Linked DNA regions of Homo sapiens: all the other regions are linked to region 3. The links are contacts of gene promoters, found by promoter capture Hi-C in blood cells and fetal thymus (Javierre and others, 2016). All regions are on one chromosome and are shown on one strand. The core of a region is centred on a gene start or on the middle of the fragment in contact, and the rest is flanking DNA. Distances in the headings are between cores, read along the strand shown. Region 1 overlaps ROCK1 (Rho associated coiled-coil containing protein kinase 1). Region 2 holds the start of ESCO1 (establishment of sister chromatid cohesion N-acetyltransferase 1). Region 3 holds the start of SS18 (SS18 subunit of BAF chromatin remodeling complex).

The links. Contacts are between HindIII fragments. The CHiCAGO score rates a contact against its expected background, and 5 or more counts as called.
Region 1: a fragment that was not itself captured here is called in contact with the fragment with the promoter of SS18 in region 3 in 1 of 17 cell types (non-activated CD4 T cells); the score reaches 7.0 in non-activated CD4 T cells.
Region 2: the fragment with the promoter of ESCO1 here is called in contact with the fragment with the promoter of SS18 in region 3 in 1 of 17 cell types (non-activated CD4 T cells); the score reaches 6.8 in non-activated CD4 T cells.

Annotation. Positions count from the first base shown.
Region 1 is chr18:21,105,286-21,109,398 of GRCh38, forward strand. All of the region lies in intron 1 of ROCK1 (Rho associated coiled-coil containing protein kinase 1), which reads right to left. Among named protein-coding and RNA genes, the nearest start is that of ROCK1, 4.5 kb to the right of the region's middle. The HindIII fragment of the contact is 3,968 bases long and covers 413-4,113 here.
Region 2 is chr18:21,598,052-21,602,342 of GRCh38, forward strand. ESCO1 (establishment of sister chromatid cohesion N-acetyltransferase 1) reads right to left here and starts at 2,653. Exons shown (of 12, transcript NM_052911.3): 1 at 2,572-2,653. RefSeq lists enhancers at 997-1,291, 2,359-2,878, 4,203-4,282. The HindIII fragment of the contact is 1,991 bases long and covers 1,638-3,628 here.
Region 3 is chr18:26,088,456-26,092,523 of GRCh38, forward strand. SS18 (SS18 subunit of BAF chromatin remodeling complex) reads right to left here and starts at 2,158. Exons shown (of 11, transcript NM_001007559.3): 1 at 2,046-2,158. The coding sequence starts at 2,114. RefSeq lists an enhancer at 2,493-2,612. The HindIII fragment of the contact is 4,894 bases long and covers 1-4,068 here.

The DNA of each region.
Region 1 (4,113 bases), core at 1,147-3,646, 5.0 Mb before region 3:
GAATAAAAATGAATTAGGAGAGTAACTTGTTTTTTTAAAAGAAGTTCCTGCAACATACTAACATCCAAAAAAGTCTGGTCCAAACTAACCAGATATGCAATTGATACTAATAACACCTATTAACTCACAAACTAGGAACACTGGCAGAGATACAACTTTAAGGCTCAAAGATTTAATGACCTCAGGTCTTTTCATTCCAAGAGTAATATACCCCCAAAACAGATCAATTCAACTGGCAAGGCATACAGGGGATTAGACAGCAATAATCCAGATTCGAAAATGCTACCCAAAATCTGCTGTAATAACCCAATGTGTGGACTAACACTGTCAAAAAAGTTCACAACAAAAATTTCAGTTTAGCGACAGGGACAATAGTGGAATTAATGACAAAACAGATAAGTTTATGGGAGGAAGCTTGTTTTGGAATATGAGGGATTTGAGACTAACATGACATCCAAGTAGAAATGCTTACAAGGCAGTCAGATATTTAAGGTTTGAAACAAAAGACTAAAAATAAAGATTTGGGTATCATGTACATAGAGATAATAATAATTGAAGCTGTAAGAATGGATGAATTCTTCAAGAGAGTGAAGACAAAGATAAGTATGATAGGCCAAAGATTGAGGAAAAGAAAAAAAGAAGAATGAAAAGATGGGAAAGCACTAGGTCAAGAGAGCCCAGGAAGATAATTTAAAGGAAGAAAAACTCAAAGACTAACACCAGAAATTTCATTTACATTTATCTTCCACATTCTGAAAAACTCCCTAATAAGAAATAGTAGTGACAAACAGCACAGTGTTAGAACTCAACAGGCACTATTTGACTAATACTGGTTCCCTTCTGTCTCCTCCGCTCACCCGTTGCTACACCTCCACCAGCCAGAAGAGAAGTGGAAAGGTCATGTTCTTAACAGGCATCATGAAGCGATGTGCCAATAAATATGCTACAAGCAAGATATTTTCATGAAAAGTATGTCAAACTTCAAAACAAATGTATCTATAACCCTCCCAACCATTTTTGTTTTTCCTTTTTTTTGAGACAAGTTCTCACTGTGTCGTCCAGGCTGGAGTGCAGTGGCACAATCTCGGCTCACTGCAACCTCCCCGTCCTAGGCTCAAGCAATTCTCTGGCCTCAGCCCTCCAGGAGCGAGCCACTGCACCCGGCCTTGTTTTTCCTATTTAATTTACAAATCATAAGCATTTTTTCCTCTGCAAAGATTAAATAGACTTAACTAAACTCCATCCCTTATTCTGTTTTCAAAGGTACTCAAAATCACTGAGAAATTATTACAGGCCCTAGACAAAATAATTAGAAGATAAGGAAGTCCGGAAAAGAGAAATAGCTCCCGATAATCCTTATAAACTGTAACATGGACAGTAAGAAAGACAACCATTAGGACACTGGAAAGAATCTGACCTACAGAAAACCAAAGTTGACTAATTTGAATGCTCTAGGAAACAAGTGAATGGTTATCATAATGTATCTTAGTATTTGCAGACTATTTTAGCATTTATACATGATATGAAGATTGAACTTACTTAGTTCTTGAAAAAAATTACAGGTGTTCGAGAAAAGATTGGATAGCCACTTATCAGAGTTCTTCCAGCTACATTATTCTAAACTACTGCAGGTTGAGTATCCCTTGTTTAAAATGCTTGGAACTAGAAGTGTTTCAGACTGCAGACTTTTTCAGATTTTAAAATATTTGCATATACATAAGATACCCTGGGGATGGGGACCAAGTCTAAATAAGAAATTCATTTACGTCTCATACATACCTTATACACAACAACCTGAAGGTTATTTTTTGCAATATTTTAATAATTTTGTGCATGAAACAAAGTTCTGACTGCATTTTGACTGCAACCCATCTCACAAGGTCAGGTGGATTTTCCACTTATGGCGTCATGTCAGCACTCAAAAAGTTTCAGATTTTGAGCACTTCAAATTTCAGATTACGGATGCTATTCATCATTAGTGTCTCAACAAAAAAGCTGTTTAGTAGGTAAGGTAGTTTAAAAGGACATACACCAGCAAATTTCTGAAACCAAAAGATTTGGAAGTTTCCATTTCTAAGCATGAATCTAGTAAAGGAGGTAGAGAAGAAACAATTTGAAAACCTTATTTTTGGGATTACAAAAACAACTCTAGAACTAAAGGACTGCACGTGGCACATAATACACACTAATAAGTAAGTATCAGTTACACAAATCAACAAAAGTCAAAATAACAGAAAAAGGCAACCAATGTAAAAGGAGTTTTGTTCCTATAATACATGAGAGGTCCAAAGTCCAGATAGGGAAGAACAAGAACAGACTCACTGAAAAAGCTGAAGTCACCTGATAGGTCACCCTGAATGACACAATGAATGAATGAACGAACGAATGCTCAATGTTAAACATAAAACATCATGCGAAGAAAATTCATGCTAGATACTACAAACCCAGAAAAAGGATTTTTTGTCTCTAAAGGAAATTCAGTCTTGGGCCAGGCACGGTGGCTCACGCCTGTAATCCCAGTACTTCGGGAGGCCAAGGCAGGCGGATTCCTTGGGGTAAGGAGTACAAGACCAGCCTGGCCAACATGGTGAAACCCCATCTCTACTAAAACTACAAAAATTAGCCAGGCGTGGTAGTGCACGCGTGTAATCCCAACTACTCGTGGGGGCTGAGGCAGGAGAATCACTCGAACCCAGGAGTCGGAGGTTGCAGTGAGCCAAGATCGCGCCACTGCACTCCAGCCTGGGCAACAGAGTGAGATTCCATCTCAGAAAAAAAAAAAGGAAAATTCAGTCTTTACCAAGTTCAGATTGACGGGGTAATAAAATTTCAGTAACAGCTATCAATAAACAGCTGTGGAACTAAACAGAAAAAGAGGACAAGATTATAAGATTTGAAGGGGAAAAAACAACCAAATCTGTCTGTTGACTATTCTCTTTAACAAAATGTTGTTTTAGAAGTGTTGGGCTCCATGATACCTGGCTGTCCTAACTCTGGAGGCCTTGATGGCTTACCTCCTCCACTCTTCCTCTTTGTTCAACCTTCATCTTTCACCCTCATTTTTCCCTCCATTGTTTCTCCCTTTACCATTATATCAACTTGCACCTTTGTGCAAATGACTTCTAAATCATTATCTGTAATTATGAGCTCAGTTCTGTATCTCCAACAGTCTACAGGTCATTTTCTCATGATTGCTCCACTATCCCCTCAAACACAACGAATCTAAAATTGAATTTATCTGTAGGCCTATTCTTCACAAGCAATTTCCAAACCTGACTTTGCTATTTTTACCATTCTCCCTATAATCCAGGCTCAACCTCTTTAGAGTCATCTGACTATTGCCTCTCTCTTTGGTTCCCCATCTTTTCCCTGCCAATAAAGTTCCATTAATTCTTCTTTTCTCATTCTCATGCCCCAATTTTGGGCTTCAATCATTTCTGGACTATTACAATAATAACAATTTTAAAAAACTGTCCAATCTCACTGTCTCTCCAATCTTTTCCCATGCTAACCCATCTTCCACACACCAGATTCATCTTCTTCATTCATCCTAGCACGGTCTTATTTATAAATATTTAATAGCCACAACAGTGTAAAGGCAATCCAAAATCCTTAGCCTACCAATCAAATCCTCCACAATCTAACGCTAATATTTCCTTCCAACCTTATCTTCCTTGTTTCCCCAAACATGTCATAGCCAGTCATGTCTCCACCCTCTATTCACGTTATCCTCCACTCCTCTTGAGTACCCTCTACCTAAATCCTATCCATCCATTATAAAACATACTTTGGCTCTCTCAACTCACAGTGACTTCTTTCTCTCAATTTCCAAGAACATACATTATCTAAACAATCATCTGGAATTTATCACATTTTCTCAATCTGTGAAGTGTTTAGCTTTGTTTCTGTGTATATATGTGAGACAAGGTTTTGTCTTCCATTAAATAGATTGGACTCTCAGGGAAAGAGTCATGACTTATATTTCCTTGTATCCTCCACATGTAAATAAAGGTCCCCACCAAATGAAGCTATAGCAAGAGGCCAGAAGATGATTTAAAGAAAAAGAAAGCTACTAAACCCTCCCTATAACACCACTCATGTAATAAGGAGATC
Region 2 (4,291 bases), core at 1,403-3,902, 4.5 Mb before region 3:
GTCCTTAATTATCTACAGTAACAATTTTACTGGAGTTGGTTTCTAGTACCTAAATTTTAATCACCTTCAATAGAAGGTATTCCAAGAACTCTATGTGGTACAAAAATCTGCCAATAAAAGTCATGAAAAAATATTTAACTATTACAAAAAAATCCATTATTCGAACTGTGCAGCGCTGGTCACGTTCATTAACAGAATAAATACAATCAGCTCTGCATAATAAATTACCAAGCTAAAAAGGACTATCTGGCAAAAGAAGTTAATGGCATTCATTAATTAGGGTACTTTTTTAGTTATTCTGTGAAGCATAATTTATCAATTTAAATGCCAGCACCTTGTATGGGACGGACATTAAAAAAATTACTTGGCCGGGCATGGTGGCTCACGCCTGTAATCCCAGCACTTTGGGAGGCCGAGGCAGGCGGATCACCTGAGGTCAGGAGTTCAAGACCAGCCTGGCCAACACGGTGAAACCCTATCTCTACTAAAAATACAAAAAAATTAGCCGGGCATGGTGGCACTTGTCTGTAATCCCAGCTACTCGGGAGGCCGAGGCAGGAGAATCACTTGAACCCAGGAGGCGGAGATTGCAGTGAGCCGAGATCTCGCCACTGCCCTCCAGCCCGGACGACAGAGTGAGACTCCATCTCAAAAAAAAAAAACAAACAATTACTTGTTCACTACAGGATTATAATATTGATTGAGAAAGGTGAGACAATAGCATATTTTCCTCAGTTAGCAATGATAAAGGAGTTCTAGCTCGTAAGCCAGGACAAATTTTGGAATTGTGCTTCCAAAGTCACATATCTGACCCAACAGTGATACTCTGCATTCTGCCTAAAAGGGAAAAAGTGGCTCTATTACAGTCCTAGTTTCCTCATTTCCTCACATGCTCTAGGCCTGAATTTGCGACTTCCAAATTAAGCACGTTTTAAAGCACTTCTCATCCTACTCCCATGTCTAATTCCATTGATTAGATTTTTTGCTTTTCAAAAAAAAAAAAAAATTCACCAGGCACAGTGGCTCAGGCCTGTAATCCCAGCACTTTTGGAGGCCCAGGTGATCACTTGATCCCAGGAGTTCGAGACCAGCCTGGGCAACATGGCGAAACGCCGTCTCAACAACAAATAGAAAACTTAGCCTAACATGGTAGCGGACGCCTGTAGTCTCAGCCACTCAGGGAGGCGGAGGTGGGAGGATTGCTTGGGGCCGGGGAGGGAGGTCAAGGCTGCAGTGAACAGTGATTACACCACTGCAATCCAGTCTGGGCGACAGAGCGAGACCCCGTCTCAAAATAAAATAATAACTTAAAACTTTATTCGTGTTGGTGTCCTGTGTAAAGCAGAAACTAAGTACTTGACCAGAAGACAAAGTGAATATAGCATAGTTCACTGCAACCTGGATGTTTTCAACTGAAATCTATGTTTTATCCACTTTTTTAAAAAAGCCAATGCTGGTGGGGGGACTAACCACACCTTATGCCACCAAGTAGCGCTTTTGTTTCCTGCGAAGCTTATTTATTGAGATATCGTTTTGTAATACTATCTAGATACTGTGTGCTGCGATTCCTGTTTAAAGGAATCTCATTGCAGCTAAGACTACAGAAAACATGGTTCATAGTACTTCTCAAATCGCAAAGCTTGAGCTCCTTCCTCCTCCTCTTCCTCCCTCCCCTGGTCCCCGCTGCGTCCCCATCGCCCCGGAAAATAAAGCACACGCCGGATTTTCGGACGCATCATTGAGAGGCGGAGGGAGAGGAGGTAGTCTTCGAATTGTTGGACTTGCTATCCCATTCTGCCTGTGCAAAATAAACCCCCATAGTAAAATAATCTTAACCCGTGATAAAAATCGAGGACCCAATTCTCTTTGGTTCGCCTCTCTCCATCGCTATAAACTTCACTGCGGCCCTCAATGCACTCATTTCTACTCCAGAGCCGCCCTACCTGTGCCGAGACCCCCATTTGCAGCATGAGTTACTCTATGACCTTGGGCCCGCTCCCCTCCCAAACTGAAGGCTGTAAAACCAAGACCCCACATCGCGCCCCGCAAACTGCAGAGGCCTCCAGGCTCAGGCCGGGTCAGCGGGTTGCGCCAGGAGGCGGCGAGGGACTGGCTCCGGTGAAGCGCCGGGAAGAGAAAACGCAGGGGGCGGAGACGGGGCCCGGAGCTACCTGCGGGACCAGCACTGGCGCTGCCCCGGTGCTAGCAATGGCTGCGCGCCACCTCGGGGCTCCCGGAGCCCTCGCGGCAGTGCTGGGAACTCCGGCCCTGCCCCGTCGGCGGTCACGACCCCTTATGAACTTCGACCGCCCAGCAAACAGCGGCAGGTGGTGCGCGGACACGCGAGCACGTTAGCTGCCTACCTCAAGCGACGGCGTCTTGGAGCCTAGAGCCTCCCACCTCCCTCCCAGGGGCGCGAAGAGCTGGGACCGGAGCAGTAGGAAGGGGCGTGCGAGGCAACACGCCACCGAGGGTGGAACAGGAAGAGGGAGAACTGTCCGCTCCCTGAAGGGGCTGGCAAAAGAGAGGTGAAGACACAGGCGGCGGGGACCGTCAGGGACGCTCGCGTACCTTCCTTTTGCCTGGCGGAGGGTCAGACTAGCGCCAGCGGATCGCCTCACATCCGGGTATCAGGAGACACTCAGCTGCTTCTGCTGCGGCCGCCGCCTCCCCCGCGGCGCAAACACCAAACTTCCGGCGACGACGGCGACGCCTCGCTCGTCAGATGGGAGTTACCTGTGACCGTCTTGGGTGCGCTTGCGCAACGCTCCTCTTCAGCCCTAACCGGCTCAGCTGACGTGCCCAGAAGACGAAGATGGCCGCCACGCTCACTGCGTGTCACGCAGTTTTTCACCCCGGCCCGGACGGCTGGGCGTCGAGGAAAGGCGAGCTAGTGTCCATCCTCAGCGCAGGCGCGGTGGGAGGCCTAGCGCGCGCGCCTCCGCGGGTGGTCGCCTGGCAGGGAAGTGGCGGCGCCCCCTAGCGGCGGCCGCTTGTCGTTCCTGGGGTCATCGCTTTGAGCTGAAAACCACCCAGGCCCCCAGCGGTTGTGGTTTACCTTGGAAATTTGTCGCAACTGGTTGCCATGTAGGTTTTGGCTGCTTCTGTCTGCGATGTATAATCCAAGTGCCTTTGGTCTTCCATATGAGCCAATGTAAAGAAGGAGGGTGGGGCCGGGCGCGGTGGTTCACGCCTGTAATCCCAGCACTTTGGGAAGCAGAGGCGGGTGGATCATTTGAGGTTAGGAGTTCGAGACCAGCCTGGCCAACATGGCCAACATGGTGAAACCCCGTCTCTACTAGAAATACAAAAATTAGCCGGGTGGTAGTGGCGTGCGACTGTAATCCCAGCTACTCGAGAGGCTGAGGCGGGAGAATCCCTTGAGCCTGGGAGGCGGAGGTTGTGGTGAGCTGAGACTGGGCCACTGCACTCTAGTCTGGACGAGTGAGACCCTGTCTCAAATAAAAAAAAAAGGAGGGTGCAGTCCCTACACTGCCCTCCAGCACCTCCAAAAAATGCAGGGCTTCGCCCTCTCCTTGCACACTTTCTTCCTGTGTATCAGAGTGCAAGAATCATCAGAAATTGTAAAATATTCTGCTAGACTTAGTCAGACTGAGTGTTCAGACAAAGCTTTGGCTCGCTCTTGGACGCCTCTAGAGATAGAATCCAAGATTCTATCACTAGGATTCATGGTTCCCACACTTCTTTCTTTTGTGACAGGAAGGATCTTGCTGTGTAGCCCTGGCTGGTGTGCAGTGGCACAGTAACGGCTCACTGCAGCCTCGACTTGGGCTCAAGCGATCCCACCTGCCTCAGCCTCCCTGAGAACTGCATGTATGAAGCCCACGACACCATGCCAGGCTAATTTTTTTTTTTTTTTTTGAGATGGAGTCTCACTCTTGTCACCCAGGCTAGAGTGCAATGGCACGATCTCGGCTCACTGCAACCTCCGCCTCCCAGGTTCAAGGAATTCTCCTGCCTCAGCCTCCTGAGTAGCTGGGACTACAGGTGCCTGCCACCATGCCCGGCTAATTTTTTATTTTTAGTAGAGACGGGGTTTCACCATCTTGGCCAGGCTGGTCTCGAACTTCTGACCTTGTGATCCCACCTGCCTCGGCCTCCCAAAGTGCTGGGATTACAGGCGTAAGCCACCGCGCCCGGCCGCCAGGCTAATTTTTTTATATTTTGTAGGGATAAGGTCTCACTGAGACCAGCCCAGGCTGATCTCGAACTCCTGGCCTCAAGTGATCCTCTCTTCTCTCCTTGGCTTCCCAAAGCGCTGGGACTACAG
Region 3 (4,068 bases), core at 908-3,407:
GTATATTTGTTACAGACTTTATGAGTTTACTTCATAATTATGCTGTCTCAAAAGTTTAAGAGGAAAAACATACCGATTTATCATTCTATCATCTTTTAACATTCCAAGCAATCTTGGCTTTGAGGGTTAAATAATTCATCTAAGTAAAGTGGAGCTGAAGAAAGAGTACTGATTGTAGCAATTAAAAGGCCAGTTAGTTTCAGTGCCAGTTTTGCCATTTTGAGCAAGTCACTTAAGTTTTCAGGGGCTGATTCAGCTGTAAGATCAAGGGACTCAGGATATGCTCCTCCAGAACCTGCCCCACCCTACCAGTATTCAAAAGTATTAGCACAATACCATAATCACGCAATCTAAATAAAAGGAACATCCATTTAACATTAACTGTCACTTTTTTATGCACGTGAATCATAATCTTCACTTACTGGGGGAAAAAAAAAACCACTAACATGATCTGCTAATAAATGCAGTTATTTCTTAAATAGAACCATTGGATGACCAAAAAAAGTCCTTAAAAAGCACGAATCCAGTCCTCAACCTAATGATTTCACAACTTATTATCTCCAGTATATTCCTCAAACTATTGAACTTCACCATTAAAATATCTGTCTCACATCTAATATCAATCTCTCCCATTGTAGAATAAGGCAATTAATTTAGAGCCCATTTTTCTGTTCAGCTGAGAATGGAAAATAATTGATCAGCATCCTCCGAATTAATCATTATCCATGATAAATATCTTCAGACTTATGTAACAGAAACTATAAAAAAAAAAGAAAAACTCTGGACTTTTCCTGTGTACAAAAATAAAAAAGGTGAGCCCTCCAGAAACGCAGTTTTGCGTGAGTGCGTACTTGGAGCTGTTTGCCAGGCTGCAGACTTAACTCAGAGCACTATATGAAAGCACTGCATTTCCAGGCACTGCCAAGCCCGTTTGTTCATAAAATAAAGCAACAGTTGGGCAAATGTCAAAAGCCACACTACGAAGAACCTGACAGTAAACAGAAACCGATTAGCATAATCTACGTGGTCTGAGTGGTACTAAAACTTGACCTTTTTTTCTATTTTGATCTTTGCTACACAGCATAAAACAAAACAAAAATATTTAAAGTAAACTGCTAAATACAGCAGCAACTTCTGAAAGTCTAGGTCAGTAAAATTTAGAATGCTGCCTTGCTTGCAGGCAACAAGGGGTAGAGGACAATAAAGAACCTTTGTGTTCCGACTGGCAGTAACACAGCAGCGACTGCAGCAGCTCTATCCTTTAAAAAGGAGGCAGCTCCCTGTGTATTTATCACGACTTACATTAACTGGTCACGACAGTCTCCACCATTAGACTGTAAGCTCCAGGAAGGCAAGGACCATGACTCACCACAGTAGCCTCAGCGCCTAAAATAGGCGCTCAATAAATATTTGCTGCAGAATAAATGAATAGGCGGCGATGCAGAAGGGAAGAAGAGGCTCTGGGGACAACCCCAGAGTCCATGGGGACCTTCCTTGCCCGCTCCTCAAACTCTATACTAAGGTTCCCTCCAGCGTTCCCCAAGTCCTCCTGCGAGCTCCCAAACTCGGCTGAGTTTGCAGGGCGGCGACCAGCGCACCGACTTCCCCTCTGCCTGCCGCGACCCGCGGTGGGGTCCGCACGAAGCAGCCGCGGCACGCGGGGCGGGGCGACGCCAAAGTAACTCCGGAGCAACGCGCGGGGCCGCCGGTCCGACACACGCCCTTCCCTGAGCGGCCGCCGCCGGGCGCACGCGCCCCGCAGCCCGAACGCCGCCCCATCCCTAGAGAAATCAGGCGGCGGCTGTTTGGGCTTTTGTGTCTGTAGAAAAACGCGTAAATGCGTGAAAGACTCCGAGAAAAACCGGTTCACCCTCTTCCGCCACCCACTCAGGCACAGCCAGCAGTCCGTGTTCCCAAACACTGCTGATTCCCAGCAGGCCCGCCTCCGCCTCGGCCCGGTCGACTCCGGGCCCGGCCCTTCCCCCCGCGTCTGTCTCTCCCAGAGGCGGTAAGGGCCTGGCATCCGCAACCCCGCGCGGTTTCACCTTCTGAATCGCAGCGGGAGTGATCTCCCCCTTGCCTCGCTGCCTCGGGGCCGCGAAAGCCACAGACATGTTGCCGCCGTCACCACTATCGGCAAGTCCCGAGCGCTCCGGGTGAACGGCAAACTGGGGGAGAGACGCCGGCCTCTCGGGCTGAACCACCTCGGGAATGCGGGGAGGGGGGATGCTCCGGGGCCAAGCGGACGGGCGGCGGGGCAGGCCTGAAGGAGGCACTCTGGCCAGGGATGTCTCGCTTCTGCGCACTCTGGGGGACCCCTAGCCCTGGCCGAACTTTCTTGACCGTCCCTGCATCCCCCGAGCTCTCCTTATGGGCACCCCCTGGCCCTTTGCGCTAATGGTAGAGTCGCGCCCTAGTCCTCCCTCCGCTTCAGCGATTCAGGAAATGGTCCCGCCGCCGCGGGAGAAGGAGAGGCTGGGGCAGCCCCTGTCACAGGAAATGCGAGCGGCCCAAGCCGGCCCGCCCCCTTCGCGCCGTGGCAACTTGCCTCCCTCTCCGGCCCTCTGAAGCGTCTCCCCGACTGTGTTGCAGAGCGTGCCCTAGACCTAGTTCAGTTTTTCCAACTTCATCCTTACTTACGCCTCCTGGCAAGAGTGGCCGCCCCGAGTTGTCCCGGCAGCCCGGAGAGGGGAGGGAGGTCAAGACTCGGGAGTTCGTGCAAATCCGTGGAGCATCTGCCGAGATAGGGCAGAGGTGGAAGGACAAGGTGAACGCGGATTCGCTGGTTTAAATGGCTCGGCTACGCCCCAAATGCGCACCTCCGAGTCCACAGTCTCGCACGCACGCACAAAGTCGTGCCTAACAATTGGAAAGTAACCCTGACCCGAAACCGGGACACCAAGGTTGTGTCCAGTGCTCAGGGGCAATCGGCCAGCTTGGCTGGAGCGGACAGAGAAGAGCTCGCCTCTTGGGACAAACCCTTAGCAGGAAAGTGGGTCGATTTCGTCTGACTTGGCTTTTTGGAATTAAGTTGTGAAACAGGGCATCCTCACTCTCTGTTTTTTAAGAGAGTACTTACTTAGTGCCTTGTAAATTAGGCCCAAGCTGCCAGGCTTCAAGTCAGTGTAAGGGAAAAAGGCAAAGTTTTCAAATTATGGAAGGAACACGGACAAATGTGGGTTTTGTGTTGCCGTGGGGTTTTAAAGTATTCTGTAAATTTAGACTTCCATATAACACAAAGGGAAAGTTTATATAAAGTGTTACCCAACGTTAATGAATAATAAAAAATATTTCCATTTTTATATAAATTGGAAAAATAAAGAAAAAATACATTATTTTAAAAATTTAATCACTTGAGGCCAGGAGTTTGAGACCAGCCTGGGCAACAAAGTGAGACCTCTGTCTCTACAAGAATTTTAAAAATTGGCTGGGTATGGTGGTGTGCACCTGTAGTTCCAGCTACTAAGGAGGCTGAGGTGGAAGAATCACTTGAGCCAAGGGGGTGGAGACTGCAGTAAGCCATGACTGCCCCACCACACTCCACCCTGGGTGACACAGCAAGACCCTGTCTCAAAAAAAAAAAAAGAAAAATTAAGTATCAAATAAATGCTCTTCACAAAAATGTCAAGAATGTCATTGATTAAATGCATTGTTTGTTAGGCTTTATACTGGAAACCTAGGGTACGATTGTGAATAAGCTGGACATGGAACCTCCTCTCAAGGAGCTTATACACTAATGGGACTAACAGACCAGAAACAAACAAATATGTATATATGCAAAGTCCCAAGAAAAACTAGCCAAAAAAAAGGGGGAGGAACTAACAGAATGACAGGAACACTTACATGAGTTAGTGTGAAAAGTCTTCCCGATTATATTTAAACTGGGACCTAAAGGATGAAGACTCAAGCTGTCATAAGAATAAAGGGAAGAAAGTTTATGCTGCTACTGACAGTAATTACTCTTAAAAATTTAATTGTTATCTTTCACTATTGTAAGCCTTGAAGAAAACACTCTGGTATAGCTGGACTTAAGGTAATCACACCAAATTGGAAAACTGTCAAATTTGG